Linked DNA regions of Homo sapiens: all the other regions are linked to region 3. The links are contacts of gene promoters, found by promoter capture Hi-C in blood cells and fetal thymus (Javierre and others, 2016). All regions are on one chromosome and are shown on one strand. Each heading gives the region's core, a stretch centred on a gene start or on the middle of the fragment in contact. The rest is flanking DNA. Distances are from core to core; before and after follow the strand shown.

The links. The method cuts DNA at HindIII sites, captures the fragments that hold promoters and counts their contacts. A CHiCAGO score of 5 or more calls a contact.
Region 1: a contact is called between a fragment that was not itself captured here and the fragment with the promoter of LIN7C in region 3, in 1 of 17 cell types (activated CD4 T cells). The highest score is 5.6, in activated CD4 T cells.
Region 2: a fragment that was not itself captured here is called in contact with the fragment with the promoter of LIN7C in region 3 in 4 of 17 cell types (naive CD8 T cells, non-activated CD4 T cells, total CD8 T cells and 1 more); the score reaches 13.6 in naive CD8 T cells.
Region 4: the fragment with the promoter of FANCF here is called in contact with the fragment with the promoter of LIN7C in region 3 in 1 of 17 cell types (non-activated CD4 T cells); the score reaches 7.3 in non-activated CD4 T cells.
Region 5: a fragment that was not itself captured here is called in contact with the fragment with the promoter of LIN7C in region 3 in 2 of 17 cell types (total B cells and naive CD4 T cells); the score reaches 6.2 in total B cells.

Annotation. Positions count from the first base shown.
Region 1 is chr11:31,364,491-31,369,817 of GRCh38, forward strand. It overlaps DCDC1 (doublecortin domain containing 1), which reads right to left and starts at 5,249. Exons shown (of 39, transcript NM_001387274.1): 1 at 5,207-5,249. RefSeq lists an enhancer at 5,183-5,327. The HindIII fragment of the contact is 1,237 bases long and covers 3,331-4,567 here.
Region 2 is chr11:22,822,793-22,827,628 of GRCh38, forward strand. It overlaps SVIP (small VCP interacting protein), which reads right to left. Exons shown (of 4, transcript NM_148893.3): 3 at 4,415-4,528; 4 at 1-341. The coding sequence ends at 327. Among named protein-coding and RNA genes, the nearest start is that of LINC02718, 4.2 kb to the right of the region's middle. The HindIII fragment of the contact is 1,142 bases long and covers 853-1,994 here.
Region 3 is chr11:27,503,722-27,508,987 of GRCh38, forward strand. It overlaps LIN7C (lin-7 cell polarity scaffold C), which reads right to left and starts at 3,048. Exons shown (of 5, transcript NM_018362.4): 1 at 2,995-3,048. The coding sequence starts at 3,031. It overlaps BDNF-AS (BDNF antisense RNA), which reads left to right and starts at 3,131. Exons shown (of 7, transcript NR_033315.1): 1 at 3,131-3,177. RefSeq lists enhancers at 2,609-3,808, 2,965-3,094, 3,165-3,454. The HindIII fragment of the contact is 9,378 bases long and covers 429-5,266 here.
Region 4 is chr11:22,622,486-22,627,841 of GRCh38, forward strand. FANCF (FA complementation group F) reads right to left here and starts at 3,338. Exons shown (of 1, transcript NM_022725.4): 1 at 48-3,338. The coding sequence starts at 3,325. The coding sequence ends at 2,201. It also overlaps a transcript of GAS2 not described here. RefSeq lists enhancers at 2,228-2,387, 2,398-2,447, 2,828-3,037, 2,902-3,801, 3,128-3,317. The HindIII fragment of the contact is 15,033 bases long and covers 1-5,356 here.
Region 5 is chr11:31,511,804-31,517,148 of GRCh38, forward strand. All of the region lies in intron 1 of ELP4 (elongator acetyltransferase complex subunit 4), which reads left to right. Among named protein-coding and RNA genes, the nearest start is that of ELP4, 4.7 kb to the left of the region's middle. The HindIII fragment of the contact is 930 bases long and covers 1,222-2,151 here.

The sequences.
Region 1 (5,327 bases), core at 2,699-5,198, 3.9 Mb after region 3:
GGAAAACAGGAACATAAATCTCAGATAAGATAAAGACCTATAAGAGGTCTGAAAAAAGTTAGAAAGAACTGACACATAATGCTAAAAAACAAGAAAAACACAGCAACAAGTGCGGTGCCCGCAAAAAATATTTACCTCTTCCTCTTTCTCTCCTGCTTAGTGTACTGCCTTGCACAAACTCAACGAAAGTTCATCGATGATGACTATTGTCAAAATGGCAAAGCAGATAATAGACTGAGTTAAGACAACCAACAAAGGGAAAAATGAAAACCATTTCTAAAAGATGAGCTAGGATTATTCATTAGAGCTGATTCTCAATACTATCTAAAGCTTTATGTTAATCTGTCAAAAAAAAAAAAAAGAAGAAAGGAAGTTTCTTTCATCCTAGTCATTCACCTCTCCCTTCCTTCAAAACACTATTTAAAACTTAACATTTCATACATCTTCCTGGATTAGCTTCATCTTGATTCAAGGATTTTAATCATTCAAGTAATCTATTCTACGTATTAGTATACCTGCAAGTTATTAATTAATGTCACAGCACCTGGTATTTCCTCTGGCATAGTACTTCCTACAGTTATTTCAGTTCCTTTTTAAATGTCTGTTTACCCAGATAAACTAAGCTTTTGACAGGACTACAGTCAACTTTGTTTTGTGTCTCTTGTAACTAACGGAGTGTGGGGTACATAAGAGACACTCAACAAATATTTGTCGATTGAGTCAATAGGTGAATGAAGGCTGTATATATATCATTGACTTTTAAAAATCAAATAACTAGCTAGTTTTTGGTGGTTTTTCTATCTTCCCAGTAGATTATAAGTTGCTCTAGAGACAATCATTCAATTTTGGAACATAACCATCATATCCCATGGTACTTAAATACAGCTTAGTTCACTGGTATAAAAATCCTAAAATTCAGAAATAAAAATCAAGGAAATGAAGGAATAGTTGGTGATGGAACTACCAAAAGAGCCAAGTAAATATAATCCTGAATAGGAAATAATTAGCAGAAGTACACTATATGTATACATCTATATAATATAGATATAGATTTCCATTATTATCCATCAATGAGAAGCACAATTGACTAGTATGACATCAAATTAAGAATTTGTGAATGTCTGGTAGACGTTAGTTTACGGGCAGGCGTGTACCAAAGTGATAGATTTAATAACAATGTCATTTTTTCCTATCATCATGACAAAGGATCTTAAACTCCTGATGTATCTAGCTACATCTATAGCACTTGATCAATCATCTGGGAATCAAATATTTAATATACGCCTACCTTGGTTATGTTAGATGCTGATGACGCAAACTAAAGTTTTGCCTATCCTTTTAATTTATTCTGAAGTCCAACCAAATGTACAGTTCAACAAATATTTGGGTTTGATTTTATTTTTCCAATTCAATTGTTTCTTGCTGTCATTTGCTCTCTTTGGAAATTCCTAAAATACTGTTATGAATGTCCAACATTCTAATATATCAAATGTGCAACAAATATTATTAATTAATAATAACAACAATAGCTAACCTTTACTGAATACTTATTACTTTCAGGCACAACTATCTCATTTAATTCCCACAACAAATCTATGAGGGAAATACTATTATTACTCCCATATTACAGAGGAAGAAACCAAAGCAAAGAGATGAATTAAGTTCACATAGCCGTAAGAGGAAAAGCCTGGACTAAACACATATGTTCTGACTCTAGAGTTCATGCTTTTAACCATGATACTAACATAGTTTATATTTCCACTATGTAAGTTTCACATAAAATGGATAAATTGCCTTTTAAATATAAGATACTGAGAAACAAAACTATTAGAGCTATGTATCATTAGAACTCCAGAGAATGAGGCAAGATAGCTGGTTCTTAGTTTCTCTGGAGAGGTGTTCTTGCTCTCAGAAAGCTTGCAACCCAACTGGGGAATCAGAATATATTCTAAGGAAAACAATATACTGTGATATACAAAGGACTTGCTATGAAAGTTGAGGGGCGGCAGTAAGTTCTAAGGACCAGGCCATCATAAAAGGCTTGATGGAAGAGATAGGCCTTAAAGCAGGGATTACTCTGATAGGAGGAAGAAAAGAATTAGGGTGTTATAAGTAAGGAGAAGCATTTGAACACAATTATTGATGAAATGCTGTTACCAAAACACCAGGAGTTCCATCTATGTCTTGCTGCTTACCACCCAAAAAGTCAATCACTGAGACAATGATTATTGTCAAAGAAGAAGGCTTTAATCAGATGCTGCAGCCAAGGAGATGGGACATCAGTGTCAAATTCACCTTCCTCACTGACTAAAATTAGGGGTTTATATAACAGGGAAGAAATGTTAACTACGTATGAGAAAACAGGAACTAAGGAAGGGTAAGGAAACAATAACGAAGAATGAGGGGTCTGGCATATCACTGTCTAGATGCAGTAATCTGGTGAGTTTCAGCTCTTTGATACTTGTTGAGAGGTCTGGGCATCCTTTCTTGAGGAAGGAACTGAGATAAAGATCAACAAAATGTGGCTGGGCGCAGTGGCGCATGCCTGTAATCTCAGCACTTTGGGAGGCTGAGGCAGGCAGATTGCTTGAGCTCAAGAGTTCCAGACCAGCCTGGCCAACATGGTGAAACTCCATCTCTACAAAAAAAAATACAAACATTAGCCAGGCATAGTGGCATGCACCTGTGGTCCCAACTACTTGGGAATCTGAGGTGGGCAGATGACTTGAGCCTGGGAGGTAGAGGCTGCAGTGAGCTGAGATCATGCCACTGCACTCCAGACTGGACACCAGGGCAAGACTCTGTCTCAAACAAGCAAACAAAAAGATAAAACAAATGCAAGTTTCAAGCTTTCAGAAAAGAAGTGTCCATTTCTATGTTTATTAATTTAAAAAACCCCAATAAACAAAACTAAACAAACAAACAAAACCCTGTCTATGGGACTGTTGGGTTGATTTCAGTACCATGAAAAGATCCAATTGTTTAAATGTTTAATGTATGGAGATAATAGGGGAGGTTGGAAAAGTAAGGATCATATTGAAGAGGTAACTTGAATGCTAGGTTAAGGAGTTAGGACTTTATTCTCTAGACCTGCCCTGCTGGATACAGTAGCCACTAGTCACATGTGGCTACTGAGCATTTGAAATGTGCTAGTTCAAATTGAGGTGTGTTCGGGCACAATACATACCAGCTTTTGAAGACTTAGTAGGAGAAAAGAATGTAAAGTATCGCCTTAATAATTTTTAGATTAATTAATTTTGTAGCTTGCACTTACGGCTTACATTATATTTCTATTGGAAAGTACTGCTCTATAAAATGAAAAATGAAGGAAGCTTAATGATCAGAAATTTATGTAAAAATTGTTTTAAGAAGTTTATTTTGGTATAAGCAGAGTGTAAGACAACTGTTCTCATTCAGTAAGCCAATGGCAAGTAAAGAAAAAAACAAGGTTCTAGTGAAGAAATGGGACTGCTATAATTTAAAAGATATTTAAGAGACAGAACAGCTAAATGGAAAGTGTACATTTTGTCTGATTCTGAGTCAAGCAAACCAACCAGAAAAAGACATTTTCAATTAACCGTGGAAATGTAAGTAAGGTCTAGATATTATGTGACAGTCCAATAATGACATTATGGAGATAAAAGAAAAAGTTGGTACATTTTAGGGATGCAAACTAAAGTATGTAGAGATGAAATGACAAAATATTTGGTATTGCTGGGGAAAAAAACTATTTCTTACTTTCCAAACCCCAATAAATAAATAAGGTAACACAATAACCTAATAAATAGTAAATCAAAATAAAATGCTTTTGCTGTAAAAAACAAAAAACCTGGAGTACCGGAGCATATCTACCTACACAAGGAAGAACCAAGCTGTGGACAGAAGGGAGTTTGAGGGCTAGAGATGTTCAAGGTGGCATCATTCTGACAGTACTGTTTAGAAAAGCATTCACCACACTACTTAATTCCATTGCTTTAGGTATTTTCATGAGGCCACACAAGAAAGTATGATGCAGCCAGGACTAAAACCAGATGCTCTTTGTATCTGCCTTTAAACATGACAAAACCCTGTGGAGAACCTAATCTATGCTTTCATCTTTAGATTTTTAAACTTGCTTGTTTCATTCAGTTATTCTTTATAGTTCATAACATCATTAAATAACTGATCATATTAGATTATTTTATTTATTCTGCTTAAGTTTATCTTGACTGCTTCTCAAACTCAGATTGGTAGAAGTTTAAAAAAGAAGGAAAGCAAAATCAAAGCAGTAACAACAAAACCATTTTAACATCTCCAAGTGAAATTTATGTCATGCTGGCCAAAAATAAGATGTAGTTTTCATCTCCAGGTACAATGCTAGGAAGAGGTGTTAATGTAAAGTAAGCAGCACAAAGAAGTAATAAAAGGAAACACAGGAATCAAGAAAGGGAGAAGAAAGAAAGGTGAGAAAAACACCACCACCACCACCACCACCACCACCAGCAACAATAACAAACCCCAACAGTGCCCATATGCAGTGCCCCCTAACTGCTTCGAAGAAGAACAGTTCATTCTGCTTTTTTCTGTAAGCTTGAAAGATAGCATAGCTGCCCTGGGAATGTGTAGACTTGCTGAGTCCTTGTTCTGCCCCTACCCAACTAGCTGTTTGGCCTTGATCCTTGATTTCTTTCCTCATCTATAAAGTGGGAATAATGGCACCTGCCTTACTTGTCTCACTGGGTTGAAATGAAAGCGAAGTGAAATAGCAAATGTGAAAGAATTTTGGAACGTTTTTATGTTGTAAGTTGGTTGCTAAGGTCTAAAAGAAATATTAATAATTACGTCGAATATCTTCTGCAGAAAAAATTAAACCGACCCCATCCCCCGCACATCTAGCCCTACCTGGCATAGGTTTTAGTTCTTTTAATTTTCGAATTAGAACATTGTAAAGGAACTGTAGGGACGAGAGTGGCATCAGGTCTCCTCATCCTTCTCACATCCTTGCCCCCGCACCCCTCTCTCACCCCAGAGTTCAAGCACCAACCGAAAAGATTGAGAGTAGCTCAGGGTACGGTAAACGGAGGAAGCTTTGAAAAAGGCGGGGAAAGCCTGGGATGGCGAGGGGGTGCTCGCTGAGGAGGAGGAGAGAAGCGACAGTCGCGGGGCCCGGAAAAGAGAGACTTAGAGCGAAGCCAAAGGCGCCTTTCTTCACAGTTTGGGAACTTACTGGTAGTAAACGCCACTCCATAGAAGCGGTGACCGGTTACCATAGAGACCGCGTCGGGGTGGGCGGAGCGTCGCTTCTGAGCTGTGCCACGGCCACATCAGCTCGGCCAGAAACGCGAACA
Region 2 (4,836 bases), core at 174-2,673, 4.7 Mb before region 3:
ATTTTAATCTTAGAGGTATATGCAGAATGTTTACATGCAGTGTATGTATATTCACTATTTAGTTCCATTTTTTAACTACTAAGAAAAATAGCAAATCACCCACTAACTGCAGAAGAGCAAATGTAGGAAAATCAGTATTTAATGAAAAGTCTAGCCATTCTCTAAGCTTGAAAATCAACGTTTTTTTAGCATTGCACTTAAGGGCAATAATATTACAAAGTCTGAATCTTCATTTACTCAAAGAGAAGAAATTAAATTGATGAAGCCCACTTGATTGCAGATAATAAACAGTTATTGGCAGTAGATTCTTCTACTCATGTTATGCTTTATGAAACTGTCCACTAGAAAAGATAAAAAAGAGACAGAAAAGTAAATTTTACTTGAAGTTATATAACAGTACTTCAGTGAACAAACAGGTAAAAAGAGGAATATGGGACATAGAAATACAAAATGATTTTTCTGAATAGCAGCTATTCATAAAATTTTACATTATAGTCCAAAGCCTGAAATAAGATGATAGTTTAAAAGCATAAAGAAGACAAAATATCTGGTCAGATTGGTGGGTAGTTGCAGGATAGCTCTGTCTCACTGTCTTGCCTGTAGTTTTCAAGAGTAACTGTAGAATGTGCTGGGAATGTAACATCCTGGGATAGCAAATGAATGGCCAAGGACAGCTCAAGTTCTGTTCCAGTCCCTCCCTAAAGACAGGACGTCCTTCAATGCTTTAGCCCAAGGAGTCATGTAGTACCTCCCCTTCTAACCCCCAGGTCATAAAACCCAGGGCACTCATCTGAGGTTCAAGTGGGGCACACACAGATGTCATCAACCCCAGGCAGTTTTCCTTGGGAGACAAGCTTATAATGAATCCTAGGCTTCTGTTGTCCCTTGTTGCCAATCTGTAAGTAATAAACTCACTCCACGTTAAATGTTTTTGGTTTTGTTTTGGGATTTTCTTGAGACAGGGTCTCACTCTATCGCCCAGGCTGGGGTGAGGTGGGAATGGCTCACTGCAGCCTTAACCTCGCAGGCTCAAGTCATTCTCCCACCTCAGCCTCCCGAAAAGCTAGGACCACAGGCACATGCCACCACACCTAATTTATTTTTTATTTTTGTAGAGACAGGGTCTCGCTATGTTGCCCAGGCTGGTCTCTTAACTCCTGACCTCAAGTGATCATCCCATCTTCTCAGCCTCCCAAAGCCTTCCTCTCACAGCTGAGATTACACGTGTGAGTGACTGTGCTCAGCCTCTTCATGCAAATGTTACATGCATGAGTATTCTGTCCACTGGACTCTGAAGTTGGTAACCACTGCACAGTGAACCTGCTATTCAGTAGCAAGAGCCTAAATATCCAATAATCAGTAAAGGAACACAAAATAAAACACAACAAAACAAAAATTTAAAAATTCTTGTTTGAGCCAGGGAGTCAAGAAATGGCAGAAACCATTAAAAAATGGTTTGGCAAGGTCTTTTCCTTCTTGAGTTAAGAAAATATTCCATTTGCCCCTTTGTTTAATGAAGTCTATTAAATCTGTGATAGGTCCTGAAGAGCCATTAGGATAGAACCAGAGATATTTGGCAATCTCTTGATAGTGTTTTCCAAGTACATCCAAGGAATATTATTGGGTGTTTTATATATATATATACACACACACATATATATATATATACACATATATATACGTATATATATATGTATATATATACGTATATATATACACACATATATATATAAAATCTATGTTTAAATAAATTTTCAACATTAAAGATTAATCCAAGTAAACTTGCTTTTCTTCATTGTACAATTTCTTAGAGGCCATAATTCTGTGCCTTTTTTAGTCTCTAAGAAGGGGATATAGTCTACAATATACAATTTAGCATTTTTAAACATTTATTCCCATGGGACTCTATCTTCCAAAACATCTCTCTTAGGACAAGTGTTATAAACGCTAGGATAGTGATTCTCAATCTGGGTTCACATTAGATTACCTTGGGAAGCTTAAAACAGTCCTGATGGCTAAACCCTACTCTCAGAGACTGACTGGTGTGAGGTGGAGCCCAATGAACAATCCTTTTTGAAAGCTGCCTATGAAACTCCAACATGCAGCTAAGGTGGAAAGCCATTGTACTAGAGGTCTACCCTTACTCCCGTGCTGCTATATCCTGTACTGATAGTACTTTGCATCCTGATGCCATCATCACATTGACTTCTTCAGGTAAGAAGTCAGAAGACAGCATTACCCATGCTAATTACCCTGGAAAGATGCAGCACTGGTCAGGAGATGAATAGGTGAAAGGCATGAAGACAGGGAATGCAAACTAGACTCATACTCTAGGTAGAGTCAGGTCAGAAAGACTCTACCTAGGGAAGAGTCTTCCTAACCTTCCTACCTTAGGAAGACTCTACCAATACTTCAGGCCAGCCCATGAAACAAGCCAGACAGCAGCCATTAAAGGACCATAGGCCAAGCGTTTTGAGGGTTAAGTACTTCTGCCTTGTATTTTTCCCTTCTGTTATCCCTGAGCCTTCCAGAATTTTTTCACTTCATGCTCTTGACATGTTGTGCATGTGTCAAGCAGAATGGAGCATGCCACTTGAAGCTAGTGTGGTAGTGGTAGGTGATGAGGAATATTCCAAGGAAAAATTACTCACAGTGGACAACAGCAGTGGCTAATGACAGTGAGCCACTGGAGAAAATCCTCCTGCCACTATATAGTTTCAAGGTCCTGAAGGTCATTTTTACTAAGTGAGTTTGAGAGATTTCTTACAAGAACAGTACACAAAGAAAAACAGAAACTAAATTTAACTTTGGGTATGTTTTACATTTTGAGCACTTTTGAATGGATTGTAAGTAATATAAGGCCTAAATTTTTTTTTTAATCTATAGACTTCAGAGTGTGGAAGCTTCAAGTTTAAGAAAGCCTCTTTCTTTATTATACTTTAAAAGCTGATGTTAATTTCATTAGGTTAGAACTTGTGAAGTGTCTTCTTAATTATGATTAAGTGTTGATTAAATTATCCTTTTCCTATAACATTACGTATGACTTTAACTTAATACCTTCACCACTTCTACTGTGAAATAGTGGATCTCATTATTTCCAGTCCTACAATTTAACTTTTGTAATTTTGTGTTTGTTTTTGACAACCCTATATGAAGTAAACCTAGTGAAACAGCACTTTATCTCAACAGAATATTGAGATATGATAAAGAATTGACCTCGTTATCACCCAACTGTTTTACTTTACACTAGACCTATTCTGTTCTATTATGGAATTATAAAAAACATAAGCAAAATGGTCAGACTTATTTACCTTATATTGAAACTAATTATATATTGCTAAAAGTTCACCATAAAAAAACTTCATAAATTTTCATTCGTTAAATGATATAAGATGAAGTAACGTACAATAGTAAAATACACAGACACACATTCTTATTTCTGTGATATTCTTGAGCCAGAATCAACTGCTCAGGGTGTTCATAAACTGCCTGCCCCACAAGTTACGAGAGTATCTACATGTAGGCAAGTGTATGTGTATATGTCCATGTATATGTATGTGCATGTGTGTGTGTGTGTAGTTTTGAGAGAAAAAAAACCAATAAATCTGTTGAAAGGTACTCATAAATCATTGACAAGTTAAATATAAATGACTGAAATTAAAGACATTGTCCTTTTCACAAATATACTACTATTTACTTTAAAAATGGACCAAGAATAAATTCTTAATATCTGAGCCATTATTTTCCTGAGCTTTAAGGGATTTTAAAAATAAATCCTTTAAAGTCCTGCTAGAGTGTAAAGACTCCAGCATTCAGAGACTCTGCTTAACTTGTCCACCATTATATTCCCAGTGTCTAGCTCTGGGATCCATATCTAGGGAGGTATGTGTATGATACCCACACCTGTATACATTCTGTAATCCAAATTAACATTTACATAACTATAATAAACAGGGGCAATGGAAAGATCAAAGATTCCAAATCAATGCGTAAAAGAGCTCAGGCCATAAAACAGAACTTATAGCGTAATCCAATTTAATAAGATATATAAATGAAGGTTAGAAATTATGTCTGTCAAAATGGTACTTAGTTTGGATGACTTTTACACTTCTTTATACTTCTCCATATTGCTTGAATTTTTGAATTATTTAAGATTAGTAGTAAGCATAAGAGTATTAAAATATATATAGTGTTAAAATAATAAATCTATTATTTCATTTTGGGGAAAAAAGCTAATTGATTCCAATAAATGTTAAAATAAATTGGTATTACTTCCAATATTTACTACTCATGCTTTTAAACTATTTCAAAATTTTCTGATAATACATTTCAGGAGAAAATTATGAATGGATTGCTACTTAAGTTTTTTTAAAATGCCAGTTAAGTTAATCACTAAGAAAATTTTAATACTTACCCTAAGTCCACCTTCTGGTGGGGGCCCGGATGTAGCAATTTGTTTTTCTATTTTTTCCTTTTTCTTTCTCTTTTCTTGCACAGATTGAACATCTAAAATTCCCCGAGATGCAGCCTTGAAGAAATTTGATAAGAAAAACAGAAAGACAACAAAAATCTGTCCAGTGTGCAAAACATTTTTTTGTCTATCTTTGCTTTCTAGGTTTTTCTTTGGGGGTAGGGAGTTGGTTTATTTTTGGTAACATAGAAGGAGTGTTTCTACAACAGCCTTACATAAAACATCATTTCTTCACTGGGTATTTTGTAACTATACAAATTTTCCCCTAAACTTGCTTCACATCTGTAAGTATTTTACAATGCACAGCCATTTTAAAAGGAAGGATGTTACTAAAAGAGTATCTGAATTTAGAGAAGATATGATAG
Region 3 (5,266 bases), core at 1,798-4,297:
CAGGCTGGCCTCAAACTCCTGACTTCATGATCCACCCACCTCAGCTTCCCAAGGTGCTGGGATTACAGGCTTGGGCCATCACACCTGGCAGAAAGATTATTTATTTATTTATTTGAGATGGAGTCTCCCTCTGTTGCTGAGGCTGGGGTGCAGTGGTACGATCTTGGCTCACTGCAACCTCTGCCTCCAGGGTTCAAGTGATTCTCGTGCCTCAGTCTCCCGAGTAGCTGGGACTACAGGTACCTGCCACCAGGCCCAGCTAATTTTTGTATTTTTAGTAGAGACAGGGTTTCACCATGTTGGCCAGGCTAGTCTCAAACTCCTGACCTCAAGTGATCTGCTTGCCTCGGCCTCCCAAAGTGCTGGGATTACAGGCGTGAGCCACTGCGCCTGGCCAGAAAGCAGATTTTTAAATTTGAGGTAAAGAAAGCTTAAACTTAAAAAGTTAATCAAATGCAATGGAAGCAAATAGACCTTCACCATTCTGATTTCCCATCACCAGAATGACCGATACATGGGGACTGTTGGTTCATCAATTATTTTGATTTATAAAGTTATAATATATAAGCCATATAAAAATTTCCAGTGAAGAAAAAAATGGAAAAAAGTAAAATGCTTTTGACTAAATCTAAAATGTACCTACTATGTGCTCAAATTTGTGTTTCATTAAATCATAGTTTGATGATTTAGAAGGCACTCTAAATCATCATATGTGATCAGGCACTGTATTGTAATTGTACTGTAGGATTTTCTACTTTAGGATCGTTGGGAGTGTTTGTTAATAGAGTCTGTTAGAATTCTAAACAAGAATCAGAGGTGATGTAATCTGACTTTCTTACCCTGCTAAATGGCAACCACTAGTACAGCTGTCTTGGTAACAGTGGGGGATTCATTAGGACCTTCTTCAGATACCACAGATATCAAGATCTGCAGATGCTCAAGTCTCTGATATAAAATGATATAGTATTGGCATAAAACCTATGCATATCCCCCCTCTATACTTTAAATAATCTCTAGATTACTTACAATATCTGACGCTACGTAAACAGTTGTTATATCACATTGTTTAGGGAATAAGGACAAGAAAAAAATGTCTGTACATGTTCTATACAGACACGATTTTTTTCTGAGTATTTTCAATCTGCAGTTGGTTGAAATATGGAACCCATGGATATGGAGGGCTGACTGTAATTCATCCTACTAAGAGGTGGAGTCTTCTACTGAAGAACAGAAAAGAAATCTGTAACAGCAAAAAACAAAGCCAAGACTATCAAAACTAAATGCCACAGAAGTTCCACATTTTGTGTTGCATTTAAAAATACAAAGACCGGCCGGGTGCAGTGGCTCACGCCTGTAATCCTAGCACTTTGGGAAGCCGAGGCGGGCGGACTTCCTAAGCTCAAGAGTTCGAGACCAGCCTGGGCAACACGGTGAAACCCCGTCTCTACTAAAATACAAAAAACAGCCGGGTTTGGCGGCGTTCGCCTGCAGTCCCAGCTACTCGGGAGGCTGAGGCAGGAGAATTGCTTGAACCCGGGAGGCAGAGGTTGCAGTGAGCCGAGATCGCGCCACTGCACTCCAGCCTGGGCGACAGAGCAAGACTACGTCTCCAAACAGCAACAACAAAAACACAAAAGACCAATACGTTAGAATCTTAACTAGCTTTCAAAGAAAAAACTTACTCCTGTTAACACCAAACAGATTTGCTCCCATCTATAAAACACAGTGCCACTGTGCTCAAGAGGAAGATGTCAGAGACTTAGGCCTAACTCGGCAAGTCTTCCCAGAGTAGCTAGTCCTCTAAAATGATGCTTTAATAGGCTTAACGGAAACAATCTCATTTACAGTGAGGCTTCCAAATGGTGAACACGGTAAAGAGCAAATCAGCAACATTAAGTGCACATTTGTTTGTGGGAAGGCATTAGGAAAGAGGTTTTTCTAAGTACAGTAATTCTAAAAATGTGTTTTCTTAGGGAACAATAGTAATATTTAGACTAATTGCAAATGTTAATATGTGCAATATAATTTCAGTCTCCATCCTACATATACATTTTTTTTTACCACCAGTACTCAAAATGTTTATTTGTACTTCTCAATTCCTATCAATGATTTCTAATGCTGGTGTATGAAAAGCATGCTTGAAATTGTTTGAAATAAAGGACTTAGGGACAGAGTGGAATGCTGGAAATCTGTAAAAGGACTGGAAACGCTGGAATGCTGGAAATCATGGTAGGCGCATAGCCAGTTATTTTCGTAGGCTTCTCTATCTCTAATTACTCAGCAGAGGTGGTTTTATTTTCCTTGACAGTCTGCTCTAGGAAGCAATCAGCCAACCAGTTTGCAATTGTAGGGTTTGTAAGAAATGAAAAACACTGCACCTGCAAGTGTTTTAGCATCTACCACTATTCGGCTTACTTACGTAACCTCCTTCCCAAGACCAAGTCAGTAGGATTGTTTTTAAAGCAACCTCTCCATTTCTAGGAGGGGCACAAAAGCTAGCAAATACCCCAACCCGAATACAAGCGAGGTTGTGGAGAAAGTAATGAAGGAGTTTGTGTGCAAACAGCGGGGAAAGGAGGTTCTGTTGAATTGTACCGTGTGTCCGTTCTCGTGCTGTACAGGCAATGAGTGTAGTCTGTGCGAACCGGGTGTGTGACGTTTGCTTTTCGGGTGTACGGGTCTCCGAATGCTGCTTCTGCTGTGCTCACCAAGGGAGCGCGTGTGCGGCGTGTGTCTGCGAAGCGGGCAGGTTGTGTTTAGTTGTGCTGTGCCTTGGAACAGTCCGTGTGAACAGAGGAGGGCTTACGGTTAACAGACAAAATACCGTAAGCGCCCTTCCTAGAGCCAGGCACAGAGACAACGGCGGCCTCTGGCGCCGGCACAAGGGACAGCGTGGCCCGGATCTCAGAGCCTGGGTCACTCCTCCTCCCCTCCAGCGACACAGCACTCCCCCAACCCTTCCGCCCACCTCCGCCGAGCCTCGGCTGCACTCACCTCTCTCCAGCCGCACGGGTTCCCCTAGCGCCGCCATCTTCTCCCTTAACCTACAGACCCACAGGAAATGACGACAGAAGGGCTGAGGTGGGGGGGCGGGGCCTAGGGGAAGCCGGAAAAGTGAGTACCGGCTAGTATCGCGAGATCAGGAAGGTGGCCGAGTGTGTCGCCGCGGCCATCAGGGTAAGGGTACCTGGACTTGCGGCTTTTTAGGTCGGCCTGGCTCCGCTCCTTCCGCGGTGACGAGGTCCCCCGGCCTCCTAGGGTTGGGAAGAGCTGCTTTCCTGACTCTCGTTCCCTGCCTCAGGCTTCCCTTATCCCAATCGCTTCGAACCCTTGGCTCAGCGTAGAGGAGTCAAGCCTGGATTCTAGTCCCACCTTGCCCATTAGCAGCTCTGTGACCTGGGACTGTTCACTTACCCTCTCTCAGCCTCAGTTTCCGCATCTGTACAACGAGAGGTCCTATCTCTTAGGTCCTTACAATTTTTAAACTCTGGGATTCGGTGGCAATTAAATGTGTAATGACATGTTGTCAGTTCTCAATTTGTGACAGCATTGCTTTAAATTTAAAAATCCACGGCTTGAATCTTCCCTCCAAATCTGTTAAGGGGTGGAAAGTACAAAGAGCATGAAACATATCTGGGTGAGGGAGAGAACAAGGTGCTTTGGTGCACCACAAAGTAACAATTTTATAAGCAGCTGATTCTTATAAAATCTTAAGTAAATGAAATATTGTGAAGCAAATAATATTCTTAATGCATTACAGATTTTTGAGCCACTTCTGAAATTTTCGCGAACCAAGAAGAATTTTAGTACTTGGATTTGACTAACATTTATCCAAGCCCTTAGTCTGTACTGATACTGTGGTAGGTGTGTTTACATCCAGCATTTCAACACTTCATGATGGGACTGTTTTAATAACCTGTTTGCCCCTGGTCCACCCTTTCCATTCACCTTTAGTATTTTCTTCTCCAAATCCATCATGGATGCCACCACTATGCTCCTTTTTCTCCCCTTGAATTCTGATTTCATCATCACAAGTTCTGTTCAGAAACTTTCAATGGTTTCTCTCCTGTTTCCTATTTCTAAAGCCTTGCATACTCTGACCCTAACTCATCCAACTAACTTCATTTCTCATTACCACTAAGTGCAACCACCACTTCAGTCCAGATAGTATAGTTTCAACCATATTTATTCCTGATTCCAAGTCTTTTTGTTTGTTTTAGAGACAGAGTTTCTCTCTGTTGTCCAGACTGGAGTGCAGTGGTGCAATCACAGCTCAAGAGAGCCTCCTGTCTCAGTCTTGCCAGTAGCGAGGACTACAGGCAAGCACCACCATGCCTGGCAAATTTTTAAATTTTTAGTAGAGATGGGGGTCTTGCTATGTTGCCCAGGCTGGTCTCAAACTCCTGAGCTCAAGCAGTCCTCCTGCTTTGGCCTCCCGAAGTGCTGGGATTACAGGCGTGGGCCACTGTGCCAGGCTCCAAATCTTCATTTGTGTTGTTCTTGTGTGGAATGCCCTTCTTCATCCCTTCCTAGTCTCCAAACTTTGTACACACTCAGTTGAACCCATTTCGTGGGTCCCTGCTGAAGGCATGCCACTTCTACCAAGCCTTTTCTCCATATTATTCCCCTTTTTTGTCCTCTGATGGCCTAAATACGTTGCAGTAACACTCAGGTGCTTATCTCTTACTCGTTGTCATTTTTTTTTGCTGCAAATGTGTTCAAGAAATGTTTATTAAACACCTAATATATACCAGGTGCCTTGATAGGAATACCAGGTAGAGCAAGACAAATGCAAACATTGCCCTTATTTCTTCAAATATTTTTTCTTTCCATTCTCTTGCTCCTCTCCTTTGGTGTGACTATTGGAGTCATGTGCATGTACATAATATACATGTATATTGAACTAACTGGCATTGTCTCACAGCTCAGTGACGCTCTGTTCATTTTTTTTTCAAGATTTTCTTTATGTTTCCTTTTGGATAATTGCTATGTTTTCATATTCATTAATCTTTTTTCAATATCTAATATTGAAATCCTGTCCAGTTCATTCTTCATATAAAACATTGTAGTTGTTGCCTCTACCAGTTTGATTTGGGTGTGGGTGTGTGTCTTACATCTTTTATGTCTTAACATGCTCAACTTTTCTGCAGCTTCTTAAACACATAGACTACAATTATAATGACAGTTTTAATATCCTTGTCTACTAATTCTATGATCTATGCTATTTCTGGCATAGTTTCTATTGATTGATTTTTCTCTTCATTAC
Region 4 (5,356 bases), core at 2,088-4,587, 4.9 Mb before region 3:
CTCTAGATTTTATAAAGAAGTTATCAAATATTCTATTTTTATAGTCTTCCTCTCACTTTTTTCTCTCTCAGTGTATGCGTAGATTCCTAATCTTTTCAAGTCCTTAAGAGAAAGTATATAAAGCTCTAATGCTGGTTTCATTTATTCAAACACTACAAGTATCTACCATATGCTGGACACTGTGCTAGGCTTCTGGAAATAAAATAAATGACAGATACGGCTTCCACTTTCATGTTGCTTTTGTTTATACCCTTGGGCATTTTACTTAATCTTTTAGCGTATATTCATAAGAATACAGTTTTGGTGTGAAGATTAAATAAGATTATGTATGTAATGAACATATGGAGACTAAAATAACAGAATAATAAATGGTAAGTATAAAATAGATTTTAAAATGTTATTTCTTAAGTCTATTGTCAATCTTTACAATTTTATTGTAAATCATAGTGTGAGATACAGCTGCAAATATAGGGAAGTAAGTTCACAAACTGTTATTTTCTAAAGCTAAAGCTAACATTAGGCCTTGCTATGGTAGAACTCTTCACTGGGTTGTTTCTTAAAAAAAATTCACGCAACTGACAGGAGGAATTGTCTTTATTCTTGCATTAATGATAAATGTAATCTACAAGATGGCCTTCATGGATTAGAAAAAGGAATCAGACCACAAGGAAAAAGAAATTGCTGGTTTTCACTCAAGATTTATCTAGAAAAGTGTACTGACTACTGGAATAATAGTTTACCCCTGGGTTGTACCACAGAATGAGAAATTCTACAAGATTATACAACTCTTTTTCTACAAGATTACACTACTCATATTGTTTTTATTCCATTCCGGAATTAGAAATTAACTTTCTAAATATCATTTTTTTCTCCAAAAAAATCCTCTTACCAGCTAACCTGGATATGGACAAAAATATCTTGATTGCTGTAAAGGTCTATCTCCCTAGTAAAAATGAATAAATTGCCCTTGAATTTATTCAAGGCAATCACTATCAGCTGTGGAACACCCAGGTAAACTAACACAACTAGGTTCCTACACACAAAACAAATATTCTAAACTGTTTCCACAGGGCAGCCACCAAGGGAAAAATAAGGAAATTTAACTATTTTATTCTAAACACTTCATTTACATATAAGGCAACTGTGGCCCCAAGGTTGTGATTTATTAACCTAGTTAACGGCAGAAGCTGCACTAAAACCTGGATCTTCTACTTAAAATGTTGTTTTGGCCAGGCGCGGTGGCTCACGCCTGTAATCCCAGCACTTTGGGAGGCCAAGGCGGACGGATCACAAGGTCAGGTGTTTGAGACCAGCCTGGCCAGCATGGTGAAACCCCGTCTCTACTAAAAATACAAAAAATTAGCCGGGCATGGTGGCCTGCGCCTGTAATCCCAGCTACTTGGGAGGCTGAGTCAGAATTGCTTGATCCTGGGAGGCAGAGGTTGCACTGAGCAGTGATCACACCACTGCACTCCAGTCTGGGTGACAGAGCGAGACTCCATCTCAAAAAAAAAAAAGTTTGATTCTTTTATCATCAAGCATTAATTTAATATCCAAAGGCATATATTCGTATTTACTGTGCTTTAAACATTTGTCTGTGCGTCAATGCTTTAAAGGGACATACTATGTGGTGATTCATTTTCAAAGTAAGAATTTGCAGAAAATGAGAAACAAACTTTCTGAACAATACAATTTTAATGCATACTAAGGCTGGTTAACTGGTTAGAATACTAGGTTAACAAGGCCAAACTCCAGATAGGCCAACAGCTTTTCAAACCAATATTCCTGACACTGCCAGGAATAAAGAAAACTCTTCACTACTGAGGGAGGGACAGAAAACCTAGAAAAATAAACCATACTAAAAGAAAAAGGGTATTTTGTTTGTCACTTTAAAGCTGCTTTTTCTTTAAACGGTACACATATTTTCAACATTCTTACAAATGGGCCTTCTATTAAAAAGCAAACTATTGCTAATTCCATGGCTTTAAGTGGAGTACTTCCAATCACTTCCTCTATCCAGAAAATCCGTGACACTACATGCCAGCTACTTTGCATATTTATAACTGTTTAATAAACTATTCAAAATTAGCATCTAAAATAATTATACTTTGGACACACGAAGGCATATATTTGGTGAGAACATTGTAATTTTCATTTTGTAAACTATATATTCTATATTCAAGTAATAACACAGCATTGCCTATACAGAACTGAGGCCTGCGCTGAGACCCAAAACTTGTCTTTTCCTAAATGCACCACTACGAAGAGCTAATAAGAGGTCTGTCCAGATGCTAAGACCAGGTACTTCAAAATCTCCATCCTGCGCTTTACAGGTCTCCAGGGCAGTTAGAACTTTATCTTTCAGAGGTGGAGGGGCCTGACAGAGGCTTTGAAACCTATTGTGCAACTCCTCCCAGGGCACATCTTGGGACTCAGTTCCAACCCAAATGCCTTTCTGAAGGTCATAGTGCAAACGTTGACCCCAGTCTGTTAGCAGACCCAGATAGACAGGAGACAGCGCTGGGTGGCGGCTAGTCACTAAAGTCAAAAGCCCGGCTGGGAGGGCGCGACAAAAGGCAGCAAAGACTTCCGAATTCCCCAGAAGCCAGTGGACTAGCACTTGGCTCCCCTCTCCAGGTGATTTGTGGATGCCGGGTTCCAACTCTTCTTGGGGCCGACGAGACAAAGGCGGCTGCAACAGCGCCACCGCTATCACCTTCAGGAAGTTGTTCTGAGGCAAGCGCTCCCACAGGCTGCTGAGAAACCTGGCGGGACGCTCCGCTTCGGCCTTCCCCACCTCCTGCAGACGCTCCAGCAGCAGCTCCGCCTGGGTCTTCATCAGAGAGTCCTCCTGGAGATTTGGGTTCTCTCTATAGCCATTGAAGCGCAGCATGTGCACCGCAGACCGCCGGCGGGCAAGGCGGGCCAGGCTCTCTTGGAGTGTCTCCTCATCGGCGTCCCGGACGCCCGGGCCGGGAAAGAGTTGCTGCACCAGGTGGTAACGAGCTGCATCCCCGAGGGCCCGGTTCTCCAGCAGGCGCAGAGAGAGCAGGACGTCACAGTGACCGAGGGCCTGGAAGTTCGCTAATCCCGGAACTGGACCCCGCCCAAAGCCGCCCTCTTGCCTCCACTGGTTGTGCAGCCGCCGCTCCAGAGCCGTGCGAATGGGGCCATGCCGACCAAAGCGCCGATGGATGTGGCGCAGGTAGCGCGCCCACTGCAAGGCCCGGCGCACGGTGGCGGGGTCCCAGGTGCTGACGTAGGTAGTGCTTGAGACCGCCAGAAGCTCGGAAAAGCGATCCAGGTGCTGCAGAAGGGATTCCATGAGGTGCGCGAAGGCCCTACTTCCGCTTTCACCTTGGAGACGGCGACTCTCTGCGTACTGATTGGAACATCCGCGAAATGATACGCCTCTCTGCAATGCTATTGGTCGAAATGCATGTCAATCTCCCAGCGTCTTTATCCGTGTTCCTTGACTCTGGGCAACTTAAAAGCCCTAATACTTTTACTTTCGCCACACAAAGAGGTTCTTCTTAGTGGAGGGAGAGCAGATGTAGGGCATCCTACCGAGAATTTCCGGAACCACGTGCGAGATGATGCCAGTCATGAACGTCTCCGCGCTTCCTTTCGCTTTGGAAATATCCTTAAGTAGAAATTTTCTGAGCTTTGCCTAAAACTAGAATCTGTGTTGAGGTTTTTCAAAATTAAGTAACGCCAGAGACATACTGTGACGTGAGGAAACGCTCTTAAATGAAATTTTAAGATCTATTTGAGAAACATGTACTAAAAATGTACTGACCTCCTATTAATGCCAGGCGCTATGCTGAATTCTGGGCCTTCACATTGTCCTTCCATTATTAGAACTGAAGCCCAGATTATTTGAAACAAAAAATAAACTTCAATAATTTATTAAAATTTGCAAAGGAACAAAATTTTACTTCACAATTGTACATTTCGTTTTCGTAATTTTTAGGACAAAATAGCTTAATTGACTCTTCTGTCATACAAATAATCAGCTGAAGGAAATGGCATTTAAGAGCATCGAACAATAATAAATGTTTGATTAAATAAAAACCGTGACAAGAGAGTAGGGAGGAGAAGGTCCTATGTCGCTCACTGATGCACTTAACAAACATTTGTCAACTCCTAGGAGTTGCATTCTGTACAAAATGCACAACAATTCTTACTTAAGTTCATAATATAGTAATTCATTTGAGCTGAATTTCCTTCCAGTCCTAAAGACACAGCCAAAACTATTCGAAAAGTGGGGGAAGGTGTTTTGTTTTGTACTTTAACAAAAAGGGGAAGAGAAACAAATTTAAAAGAGGGGAAGAGTCATTTTTCATTTATTAAAATAAGCATTCCTACACCTTTTAGAAAGTAAAGCAGTGATGTGCATGCTGTTAATTCAGATTTATGCATTTATTTATTTATTTTGAAACGGAGTCTCATTCTGTCGCCCAGGCGCGGCCAATTTTTGTATTTTTAGTAGAGATGGGATTTCACCTTATTGGTCAGGCTGGTCTCGAACTTCTGACCTCAAGTGATCCTCCCGCCTCGGCCTCCCAAAGTGCTGGGATTAGAGGCGTGTGCCACCGCGCCCGGCTATTATTTGATTTTTATTAGTTATCTCAAACTCTTACTTGGTCCTGAAATCGTTATTTTATTTTATCCTAAGGATACTATGAATCTTAAAATTCTTTTTCTTGGCTACTACAAACTTAGAACCAAGTGTGCAGCCTGCCTTTAGCAAATGTACAGGCATCACTAATTCATTTATTTATTCTTATATTTAACACCTATTATGATACATAGTATGAGGTGCTACAGATTTAGTAGTAAAATAAATGCAGTCCTAGCATGAGTGGAGAAGTTCATCTTGTACCATTTAAGAGAGACATTAAATGAATAACCTCAAATGTGATAGTAGGATGAAATTGAGTGGGGTCACCAAGTCTTAGGGGATAGGAAGGTCTCTTTAATTACTGACTTTTCAGGCCGGAGGCAGTGGCTTATGCCTGTAATCCCAGCACTTTGTGGGGCTGAGGCCAGGCGGGTGGATTACCTGGGGTCAGGAGTTCCAGACCAGCCTGGCCAATATGGCAAAACTCTGTCTCTACTAAACAAACAAACAAAAAAATTAGCTGGGCATGGCGGTGCACACCTGTGATCCTAGCTAATCGGGAGGTTAAGGCAGGAGAATAGCTTGAACCCGGGAGGTGAAGGTTACAGTGAGCTGAGATCGGGCCACTGCACTCCTGCCTGGGTGACACAGCAAGACTCCATCTCAAAAAAAAAAAAAAAGGAAAATGGAAAAAAAAAGGAAAAGAAACCAACTTTTCAGTTGAAAGTTCAA
Region 5 (5,345 bases), core at 437-2,936, 4.0 Mb after region 3:
ATACAAACTTGAACAGTAATTTTTAAAGTTTCCGTATTTGCTTGGAATGGGAGACTCGAGTAGGGTATTTAAGTGTAACAAGCTTATGCTAAAAATTACTGTTCATTAAGATGGTAGAAACAGTATTGGTTGTTGAATACTTTGAAATATATTTTGCATGTATGCAGTGAATTCTCAAAGTGCACAAAAGTTGAAGAGGTTATAATAGAATTGACTACATCTTGAAAAATAAATATGTCCAGAAGTATTTTAGTTTTAACCTCTTAATGACATTTTTGTATCTGATTTTCTGTATAAGCAGTTTAGACTATGTTATTACTTGAAAATGTTATTTGACTCAAGTTGCGACAAGCCTAATATGACTATATTGTGACAAAAGGTAATGATAATAGGATGTTATGGTGTTAGAACGGTAAAACTATACTGTAATATTGTGATTATTGCCTGAATATATTATGTGGTTACTGTGTAACAAGTAAATATTATAGCTTCCGTGTAGTACGGTGACATTTTACTACTGCCACCGTGACGTCATTGTAATTTTAAACATGGATGCAAAATATATTTGAAAGGCATCATACATGCTAATTGTTAGTCATTTGATGATACACTGATAATTCCATTACTTATTCCAAAGCATTTCATGAATTTGAAAATTTTCAATATCTGCATTTTTCAAATGACCTAATATATAATGTTTTTGTTCTGACAACCTAATTGTATTATGAGATATTGATATACATTTCCCAAGTTAGCTACATTAAAATTGTTTAAATTCCCAGATTATCTAACCCATGTTCTCAACCTTGCCCTTCTGGGATATTTATATTGTTATTTGAGGACACTGTATGTAAATAACACTTATATTTTGGAAAAGGAAAGATAGATATTCCATCGATTGAAGAGGTACTCCATTTCTCTTCCAGGGGTTTCCAAAGAAAGATTATAGCAACTAAAGAATTCTGGCAGAAATGCCCCCTGCCCTCCGCCCCCCCTCCCCCGCCCCGCCCACCCAACCCCATTCCCTGTAAAAGGTATATACTCCATCATAGAACCATATATCTAACCTGGAAGAATTAACCACAACTTCATCCTCCAGAAAAATGCTTAAAGGAAGGGTAACTGCAGATTTGACCTCTGTGCTGTTAAATTTTGATAGTGAAGGGAATGTCAGATAGGGATTTGAGGTAAATAATAGTCTAGGAAGAGTACCCTGAAAGAAGCTTAATGGTAACAGCCATTTTTTAACATTGATGTCAAAAAGTAAACACTAGTGGGCTTATTTCCTTTATTATGTTAATGTGTAGCATGGGATAATATACATTGAGCTTGGACTACATATTTAACACAATCTTGGTTATGATATTTTACCAACCAATATAATTAGCTGTATATTTAAGAAAAATGTATTTTTTATTGCTATGTAAAATTATTTCATGTGACTTAATCTATAGAACTATTCACAGTTCCTAGCTTTATTTTGATTCTCATGTTTGTCCAGCTAATAATTGTGTCATAATGAAGAGTAGTCACTATGTTTTATAATGCTTGGGGAAGAAAAAGTAGAGTTGTTATCAAAATAACTGCAATTAAATTTGAGATCCAGCATTAATTAAGTAGTTAAGGCTATTACTATGAACCAAGGAAAGAATATGAACTTGTTTTTTACATTGCATTTTCCCAGAAATACTTTTTTGTAATTTTAAGCAAAATTATTCCTTTATATAGAGGTCTGGAAAGGACTGGCATAAATCACTGTTATCTTTCTTGACTTTCATTTCTTTTCCCTTTTACTTTCTCTAACATTGAAGAAAGGCTTTCATATTCTAGTGTATTAATTTGACCTCATTTACCCAAAATGTATAGCTTAGTCAGAGGTTTCTATTGGGGAGAGTATGGGGATTGAATGTTGTTCCTTTAAAATATTAATAGTACTAATGTAATTGTCTTACTACTGCATGAATTGAAATAACAACAAAAGCCCTTTCGTTGTCTTATGATTTTGAAAATCGTGGAAGATACTGGCATTTGCAAGATCTTAAATTTTCTAATATTATTTCTTAAGTATTAAATATCTTTTCTGGTTTTAAGAAAAAATGCCTATTTTTAAAATATGTGAAATCTTGATGAAATTAATTGTCTAAAATATCAAGCTTGCTGAGTATCTTTAACCTTTCAAACCTTTATTTTGATTCTCATGTTTGCCCAGCCAATAATTGTGTCATAATTATTGAAGAGTAGTCATGATTCTTTAACCTTTCAACCTCTTGTATTCTTTTGTGTACATAAAGTACTCTACTTTTATTTTTAGTAAGATGGAAATAAGTATACATCTTAAAGACATCTAGAAGTAAAAACAAGAGTTTATTTGCTGGCCAGGTGTGGTAGCTCACACTTATAATCCCAGCACTTTGGGAAGCCAAGATGGGTGGATTGCTTGAGCCTGGGAGTTTGAGACAAGCCTGGGCAACATAGAGAGACCCTGGCTCTTCAGAAAATACAAAAATCACCCAAGCTTGGTGGTGCACACCTGTAGTCCCAGCTACTCAGGAGGCTGATGGGGGAGAAGCCCTGAGCCTGGGGAGTTCAAGTCTGCAGTGAGCAGTGATCACACCACTATACTCCAGCCTGGGTGACAGTGAGACCCCATCTCAAAAAAAGAAGAATTTATTTTGCTTAGTGACTTAGAAAGTGTGTTGGTAATTTTTCTAAGTTAGGATGAAAGGGGAGAGGAAATAGTAAACAAGGCCGTTTTACTACTTTCTTGCCTGTTTTCATTATAAAAATAAGATGATTGTTTGCTTACCCTATTACTTATCTGTAATACATTGTATTGGGAAAAGATATTTCAGTTTTAATTGGTAACTATTAGTGTGAGGTCTATGTTGCTTTTGGAATTAGATAAAATTACTAATGGATTACTAAATTTAAAAGTAAATTAAAAGCCAGCCTTCAAAGAATATGTCAGGATACTCTGTTGTGATTGGTTGGTTGTTTTAGCTTTTTATTTATTTATTTTTTGGTTGGAGCATGGCTACAAACATTCAAACTTTTAAGTTAAAATACAGCTAGACCTTCCATTTATCAAGTAAGAGACATCAAAATACCTTATACAAAGGTATCTTGTGGAAATGTTTTGAGATCATGTCTCACTAAACTCAAGTTTAGAAGAATAGAGAAATTTTGCTGCTGTATGCATGTGTGTGTGTGTGTGTGTGTGTGTGTGTGTGTATATATATATATATATATATATGTATAGGTCCAAATTATTCCTCTTAAAACACATAGAGTAAAAGCTTGATTTTTAAAAGCTTTAGTTAATAAGTTTAAATTAGTTAATGAGTTACATCTTATTCCCCACAACTATCCTTCACAGTGACCAAACTTTACTACAGCCAATCTAAATGTGAATCTAGTGAATTTACATGATAGAACCTTCTTACCTTTTTGTAAAAGAAGTTTGAGAAGATATTTGGTGATAAAAATGATTTTAATATGTCCCCATTATGTCTTAATGTTCAAATTTTCTAAACATTAGAATTTTAATACACATAAGATTTTTTAGGTTATGTGGTCACTCATGCCTGTAATCTCAACACTTTGGGAGGCCAAGGCTGGAGGCTAGTTTGAGCCCAGGAGTTCAAAACCAGCCTGGGCAATATAGTGAGACCCCATCTCTACAAAGAATCAAAGAATTAAAAAAGAAAAAGAATTAGCCAGTCATGGTTACATGTTCCTATAATCCCAACTATTTCAGAGGCTGAGATGGGAGGACCCTTGAGCCTGGGAGGTTCGAGCTGCAGTGAACCATGATTGCACCACTGCACTCCAGTCTGAGCAACACAGCGACACCCTGTCCCCACCCCCCACAAAAAAAAGGAATTGCCAAAATGGTAAAGGTAGCTCTTTCTGAGTACCTTTCTGGGCCAGATACCTCTACTTGGTAATCACTTCATGTAATTGGAAAACTGTTATGTGATCTGTTCTCATTGTCCCATAGTGAATGTTAAAAAATCTTTACTTCTGGCTGGGCGCAGTGGCTCACGCCTGTAATCCCAGCACATTGGGAGGCCGAGGCGGGCGGATCACGAGGTCAGGAGATTGAGACCATCCTGGCTAACACGGTGAAACCCCGTCGCTACTAAAAATACAAAAAAATTTGCCGGGTGTAGTGGGAGGTGCCTGTAGTCCCAGTTACTTGGGAGGCAGAGGCAGGAGAATGGGGGGTGAAACCAGGAGGCGGAGCTTGCAGTGAGCTGAGATTGCACCACTGCACTCCAGCCTGGAGGACATAGCAAGACTCGGTCTCAAAAAATAAAAAATCTTTGCTTCTCTGTCTGTCCCAGTGGAGGCCTTATATAAATTCCTTATTTGAGGAGATGTAAGTGTAACTCAGGAGGTTAGATAAGAAACCTAAATCCTCCCTATAGGAAATAGGTTAAAGTAAGAAACTTTTTAATAGTGCCTGCTCTAGCTTAGACACCATAATGTCTCTTGTATGCTTATATCAATTCATCTCCTTATATGTACAGAAAAAGGCTATTGGGTAATTAAATGTTTATTTCTGCATTTAAGGGAAAGTAGGAAAGTAAGGAAGTGTGATATAAGATGTTCAAATGAATTATAACATTAGTGTGGCACTATGAAATTAAACATTTAGTCTAATCTTATCCCAAAGCAAACCCTTTGTTCTGATCCATTTGTTTGTTTGAGACTGGGTCTCACATTGTTACCCTGGCTGGAGTGCAGTGGTGCGAACGCTGCTCACTGCAGCCATAACTTCCCATGCTCAATTGATCCTCCTTCCACAGCTCCCCAAGTAGCTGGGACTACAGGTGGCAGCACGCCTTGCTAATTTTTGTATTTTTTGTAGAGATGGAGTTTTGCCATTTTGTCCAGGCTTGTCTCAAACTCTTGAGCTGAAGTGATCTGCTCACCTTGGCCTTCCAAAATGCTGGGATTATAGCCGTGAGCCACTGCACCCGGACCTGATCCTTTTTGATGGCTATCATGATGTACATTTCAGCTTATGTTTATCTTTTCATCTGAAGATAAAAGTTATCCTATGTAGTCTGTTGCGACTTTAAATGCTATATGAAGGAACCTGTCTGAATGTGAACTTAAAATATAAAGTCTTGTAAATATATAAACTTAAACATTAAAACATTTAAATATACTAGGTTTTTTCATTATTTCCTTCCCTAAGAGTTTGAAATGTTCTACATATTGTCATGAAATTGATGTTTAGCCTCACTGTAAATCGCTTAGCACAAGTCTCATGTTGCATATTATTCTAGGCGCATGTATGTTACCAGATTTCAAACTGTTTAACACATAATAGTTAT